Linked DNA regions of Homo sapiens: region 1 is linked to region 2. Evidence: promoter capture Hi-C in human tissues and cell types (Jung and others, 2019). All regions are on one chromosome and are shown on one strand. The core of a region is centred on a gene start or on the middle of the fragment in contact, and the rest is flanking DNA. Distances in the headings are between cores, read along the strand shown.

The links. Contacts are between HindIII fragments. The study calls those that stand out against the background at their distance.
Region 1: a fragment that was not itself captured here is called in contact with the fragment with the promoter of OR2S2 in region 2 in 3 of the 25 tissues and cell types used here (aorta, lymphoblastoid cells and spleen).

The regions. Positions count from the first base shown.
Region 1 is chr9:35,920,537-35,924,148 of GRCh38, forward strand. No RefSeq gene overlaps it. Among named protein-coding and RNA genes, the nearest start is that of SPAAR, 13 kb to the left of the region's middle. RefSeq lists an enhancer at 2,735-3,612. The HindIII fragment of the contact is 3,057 bases long and covers 67-3,123 here.
Region 2 is chr9:35,956,407-35,959,920 of GRCh38, forward strand. It overlaps OR2S2 (olfactory receptor family 2 subfamily S member 2), which reads right to left and starts at 1,748. Exons shown (of 1, transcript NM_019897.2): 1 at 702-1,748. The coding sequence starts at 1,692. The coding sequence ends at 733. The HindIII fragment of the contact is 4,346 bases long and covers 1-3,514 here.

The DNA of each region.
Region 1 (3,612 bases), core at 345-2,844, 36 kb before region 2:
TCCAGTCCCAGCTCTGCTCATCTGGCTCCTATGACGAGGGTTGTATCCAGTGTGTGGACGTCCCCTCTCCTCAGGCTGGAAACCCTCTGAGGTCAGTGCAGAGCCTCGGAATAGCGACATTGACATCTGTCTGGCACATAATGGCCTTCAAGGTGTCCTAAGTTTACAAAGCTCTTTCCCAGGCATCTCTCAGTTGTCTCCCATAACAAGCCTTGGGGCCCAGTAAAGCAGGCTGTATTAACCGCAGTTTACGGATGAGGGAACCAAGACTTAGAGACACAAAAGTGACAGGCCCCACTCCAAGTCACTCAACAAATTGGTCACAAAGTTCAGCACAGGACCATATTATCCCCTCTCCTTCAGCCAGAGCCTCATTTTTGCCTCTTTTATATCTTCTGTTTCCCAGGTAGATTTTGCTTGATAAAAAGGGGTCTGCTGCTTTAAAAGGTTTGAAAGCTCCAGAATAATGTTTCCAAATTCCCCGCGAATACTTCTGTTCAGTATTCAGGAATGAGAAATTGAAATTTCTGGGAATTCATGAGCATTCCTGAAATTATACATTAAATTTTTTTTTTTTTGGAGACAGGATCTTACTCTGTCACCCAGGCTGGAGTACAGTGGTACGATCATAGCTCACTGCAGCCTCGAACTCCTGAGCTCAAGTGACCCTCCTTCCTCAGCCTCCCGAGTAGCTGAGACTATAGGTACATGCCTATAGAGTGTGCCCCTAACATCTTCATGTTAGCCATTAGGGTGCTCCTGGCTATTTTGTTTTCTTCTTTTCTAGAGACAGAGTCTTACTATGTGACCAGGCTGGTTTTGAACTCCTGGCCTCAAGCTATCTTCCTGCTTCAGCCTTTCAAAGTGTTGGGATGACAGGTGTGAGTCACTGCGCCTGGCTCATATTTTCTATAACATTATATTCACATACTTTTAAATAATAATGAATGACCAGAATAATAAACAGTTAATAATTGTCAGTGACAAATTGATGCTAAAAGTTCCAGACTTTTTCCTTAAGGTTTATTATTATTATGAACCAATATGTTGTGACAAGATTATTTCAATAACATAAAAATTATCTCCACCTGATATAGGCACTGGATATAGAAAACATTAAAAAGGAGGGAACATTATTGCAAAATAAATGCCAGATAAAAATCACTTAAAAATGGAAAAATAATAGCACAAACATTTAATTTTAAAAGTTATTTTTAAAATGAACTTTTAAAACACAAAGCTTTAATTGCTCTATCTGATAGTTTTGATCTTTGTTTTGTGACAAATATTCTAGATGTAGGAAACTTTTTTGTTTTTTCATTTTTCATTGATGTTGGTTGAGTGTGCCCCTAACATCTTCAGGTTAGCCATTAGGGTACATGTTGTTTTATAGAAGCTCATTTCCTTTTTAAATGATGCTTTATTTTTATTTTTACTTTTTGGTCTGCTTACTCTGGTCTTGATTTTGCCATTGAGATCAATATTGCTCTTGCTAATTCAGATTTTAGAGCAATTTCTGATTTCCTTCTGGAGTGTTCTATAACAGCAATCACGTCTTCTTTTTGCATCTCTTCTGTTAAAGTATTTACAAAGAACTGTAGCCTATAATGAATATTCAACACGTGGAAATGCCAGCAATCATTACTGGGAAGTGTTCAAATAACTAACATTCAGACTCACTAACAAGGTTCATAGAATCACTTGTTGGAATTGCCAGTTTCAAGACTTATTTTGCTTTCAAAATTTGTTATTTTTTTCCGACACTGCTCATAGGACTTGTATAAGTATCCTATGTGTACAAACTTACCAATATTTGTTTTATTTGCAAAAATGACTTACCATTAGAAGCAGACCAGGTCACAAACACACACTTATAACCAGTGTGTGCTGGTAAACTGACTCTCCTGGAGAAAAAAAAAAAAACCCTTATATGTAGGGTTTGCCAAATTCTGAGGGGAGGCATAAATGTTCCCACAATGGTCAATGCCCAGCTACCGAGGGGATGTCACTGAGAGCTGGGAAGAGCAGCATACAACTGGCTCTTCTTGAGCCAGCGCTAGCCCACCACCACCTCTACCCTGGCAACAGCAGTCGGAAGACTGATTAGATGATGGCCTTTTCTCTCCTCTACTCCCCAGTTCCATTCAGAACTTAACTTTCCTATGGGTGCCTCAGTATTTTCTACTCTCGCTTTTGATTTGGTGTCAGTGGATTCCTTTGAACTAGTCACATCTAGTTCAACATGTTGATTGCTAAGCTTTAATTCTCACACAAAAACACTCTTACCAGGTTCCTAGATGTCTTAACTTCTTTTTCTCAGGAATTGGCATTTGGAAAAACAGTATTTCCGAGAAATGCTGGGAAGGAATTCCTGCATAAAAACACAAATCTGGCCGGGCACGGTGGCTCGTGCCTGTATTCCCAGCACTTTGGGAGGCTGAGGCAGGTGGATCATGAGGTCAAGAGATCAAGACCATCCTGGCCAGCATGGTGAAACCCCATCTGTACTAAAAATATAAAAATTAGCTGGGCGTGGTGGTGCGCGCCTGTAGTCCCAGCTACTCGGGAGGCTGAGGCAGGAGAATCACTTGAACCCGGGAGATGGAGGTTGCAGTGAGCCGAGATTGTGCCACTGCACTCCAGCCTGGGCAACAGAGGGAGACTCCATCTCAAACAAAGCAAAACAAAACACAACACAAATCCAGGAAACCCAAGTAAAACCTATTTGCTTGACTGATCGTGATCCTACTGGATACATTCTCCTGGGTCCCAATTTTGGCCACCGCTCATTTTCATTGATCTCATTTTAAGGGGTTTGAGGTATGGAGTCCTTAGGATTTGGTGTTAAGTTTGGTGATTTTTCAGAGAGGCCGCACCAGAGCTGCATCGGTGATCATTTGACTTTATGTCTGACCCTGTGCACAGGGGTCTACTTGTCTCCTAACCTCAGTTTTCCTCTTTTTCCTTATTAGAAAAACAACAATAACATCAACACAGTCCCTCTTGGAACTAGGAATGGCCAGTAGAAGTGGTGTGTGACTTCTGGGAAATGTCCTTAAATAGAGGCGGAATACTCTTCTTTGTTTTTTCTCCTTTATCTGGCCAGAATGTAGATATAATGGCTGGAGCTACAGAAGTCAGATTGGACCAGAGTGGCCTTGGGAGTAGAAGCCCCATTTGGGGGAACAATAAGATAAAAGGGGCCTGGGTTCCTGATACTGTGGGAGCCCATATCAGTCCTATACTGCCTTCTTCCAGGCTTTTATACCAAAGCAAAACAGTCTTATTTAAACCACTATTGATATGTGGTTTTCTATCACTCATAACTGAAACAAATTAAACAGCACACCAGTGCATTGTATTCTGTTACATAGTTTATGGGAGGCCATTGTTTTGGACTAGCCTCCTACACTGGCCCTAGCAGAGCAGATCAAACCAGAGCAGAGTCACCTGTGCTAACTGCCAAGTCATCAAACCGGACTTTGAAATGAGGCAGTTTTCCAAAAACGCAGGAGCTTCCAGTCACCCTGAATCAGCACAATAAAAAGTGCCCTCTGCTTTAACCCTATAAGGAAAGCAACTTTGAAATGACCAATCTGCTTTTTGTTCCCT
Region 2 (3,514 bases), core at 498-2,997:
GCCACCATCTGTCTACTTCTATCTATATCTATCTACCATCATCTTTTTTCTAGAACATGATTTGGCATCTATCAGAATACAAGCTTTGCTGTTGTGAAATTCTGTAAGAACGTCAAATTTGAACTCATTACTCCTTGAATTTTATTTAATTTACTAGGTGGTGTTCAATGATCTGCAGTGCATCAGGAAAAAATAGCCTAAATTTTCTCATAGCTAAAAAGATATTCAGTCATCAAAATAGATTATTCACAACTAAAAGCTCCCTAAGTGAAGAACTTACCTTTTCTTAGCCATTCAGGCAAACTGAGTGTAATAAACTGAAGCCTCAGTAAAAGTTTCCACTCCCTCCTTATTTCTCTGATTTCCCTGGTGAATCCAGTAGGGCTGGTAAGTTGCTGTGAGAACATTCTCACGTCCCTGTTCTAACTCTAGAGCTGAGACACTCTAAGGGCCATGCGTCATGCTTTCATGGCTGCTGTCTCGTGTGGTTTTACCGTATGTTCAGAATGCCTTCATCACAGTTGATTATTTATTGAGTCTGGTGTCTGTTGAAGCTGTCAGACATAGGACTAAAACTCAGGAGATATCGTCTGAAAAGTTTAATATCTCCTGCAAATGGACTTAGAGTGAGAAACCATTATAGGTCACATGACTTGGCTTTTGAATGGCAGCTGATGTGATTGTGATTCCTTACTTCCATGTGGGTGACAATCACAGAGGACCCTTCCACCATCACTGAGTGAAGCCTTTTGGTCTCAGCAGTCTCCTCACAGCAGCCTTCACATCCTTGTTCCTCAGGCTATAGATGATGGGGTTGAGCATCGGGGTCACCACCCCATAGAAAAGGGGGATGAGTTTGTCTGAAAGATCCTCTTTGTCTGCTCCCATGGAGTCCTTAGACTTAGGCTTCCCATACATGAAGAATAAGGTCCCGTAGAAGACGATCACCACGGTGAGGTGGGCAGAGCAGGTGGAGAAGACCTTTTTCCTCCCCTCAGCTGAGGGGATCCTCAGGATGGTGGTGATGATGAAGACATAGGAGAAAGAGATGAACAGAACCGGGACTCCTAGGAAGATCACATTCGTCACCTCCATGCTGATCACATTGATGGAAATGTCAGCACAGGCCAACTTTAGAACAGCCAGAATCTCACAGGTGAAGTGGTTGATGACATTGTCTCCACAGAAGGGCAGCTGAATTGCCAAGGATGTGTGTACCACGGAAGCAGCACCACCAATAGCCCAGGAGCTGGCAGCCATGGGCATGTAGGCAGCCTTGCTCATGATCACGGAGTACCTAAGGGGGTTGCAGATGGCCACATAGCGATCAAATGCCATCATGCTCAGGAGCAAGCACTCTGTTCCTGCCATGGCAAAGGAGAGTGCCATCTGCACAGCACAGGCTGAGAAGGAGATGGTTTCCTGGGGAGTCAAAAAGCTGTCCAGGACCAGTGGGACTGAGGAGGTAGTGAAGCAGATGTCCAGGAAGGAGAGGTTCCCTAGGAAGAAGTACATGGGCGTGTGCAGGCGGGAGTCAAGGATGGTCACCAGGATGAGGACCCCATTGCCCAGCAGGATCACGAGGTACATCAGCAGGATGAGCACGAAGAATGTCTTTTCCAGCTCTGGGTGGGCAGAGAGCCTCAGGAGAACGAACCCCATCACAGGGGAGGTCTCATTGGCTTTTTCCATGTGATATCCCCTCTGCCATCAGCAAAGTACTGAGCAGCGCATCAGGCTTTTTGGGAAGAGTCCTAGGCATCTAATATGTGGTCAAGTTCCCATTGCATAATAGAAGAACATATCTGTGCAAGAGAAAAATGACGGAAAGAGACAGTAGGGGGTGTCTTAGAAGACAGAAGGTCAGAGCTGGACAGGTAGTGGGTGAGGGCCTCAAATGTCCGGTTGTGCATGAGGGATTTTTCTGAAGTTGCTGCACCCTCTCAGTGTCCACAAAGGTGATAGAGGCCTGGGGAGGAGAAGTGACCTGTCCAAATCTTCTGAGCAAGTTGGTGACAGAGACAAGACTTGAACCCAGCAGAGCATATCCCTGGCCCAAGGAGGGCTTTTCCTCTTCATTGTGATTAAGTGCTAGGAAATGCTATGAATTATTTCTCTTTAATGCAAATCCACAGCAATTTCATTTGATCTGGGCTTTCTTAGATTCTCAGAGAGGAAAATTCCCAAGAAGATGCAATTCTTGGACCTAGCAAGTGATTAAGTTTCTTTAAACTTTGATTACACGTGGGGAGGAAATTGCGCAAAATTGTTCAACCATATTCACACAGAAACAAGCCTAGTTAATATTCAGCCATAAAGAGCATTACTTCTTCAGTCTAGTGACACAGGCTTGAGCATTGACAGGAATAGATCTGCCTATTTGAAATATGGATTTATTGCAATATATGGGGAGGTCCTATAGCTGGGAAATTTATGAAGCCAACAAATGGATTTGTTGGAGTGACTGAACTCACACCATGAGACAACACTGTGTAGCTTACCAGTTAGTTAATGCAATATTAATAACCACACTCTAACTATAGTTATCGATAGTAGAGTATATGGCATTAACTTCTGATCCCATCTCATTAGGATGTCTGTGAAATTCCTAACCGTGAATGACTAAGAATGTTTTTTCTTTGTCCTTTTATGTTTGCATTTTATTCTTGCATTATCTTCTGACTCTCTGACTCCATTCTTGAGTTCTATGCAAGCAGCTGGCTTATAGGAAGACTTATATGCCTTTGTATAGAGGATATCTAGTCTCTTACTTGCAATTTCCCTGACTCTAAATTCAAAGTACTCATAGATAATATTTTGATAGCTCCTTCTTAATGACAGTGGCTCTATGAGTGTGTATAAGAGTGGGTGGATGATGGAAGATGAGTGGTTAATATTAATATTAGTGAGAATATTAGGGATTCTCACTAATATTAAGGAATATAAGCTGTGCCATATTTCTTGAAACAGCTCATGGAGAAGATATTATCATTCAGGTTTTACAGGTGAAGTAACTGGAGCTCAGAAGATAAATTTGCTCCTTGGGGTTGAATGGCAGAGCTGGAGTTGGATTCCAAGACCTAGTCCTGAGTTCTTTCACGAAACAGCTGCTTTTCTCTTTTGGTGCACAGCTTTGCAAAAGATTCTGTCCCTCCAATATTAGACAGATCTTATAGTCCTATTTATAATTTTCTCTGTGCTAATATTGCTATAGCATAATGATAAATTAAAAGGACAAAGTCAAACTTGTACACACTGTTATGATCTCAATTAGCTCTGTGTATTCTCTGGCCAGTCTCACTGTCTGTCCAACACTCTCTCTTCAGTCATGGGGGAGGGTTTATGTCAGATGTGTTGTCAGGCAGTGCACCTCCCACCCTAAATGGAACTCAGGGTTTCTCAAATTCTTTACGATTGACATTTTGTGCTGGATAACCCTTTGGTGTGAGGGCTGTCCTGTGCATTGTAGGATGTTTAGCAGAGTCTCTGACCTCCACCAATCAGTTGCCAATAG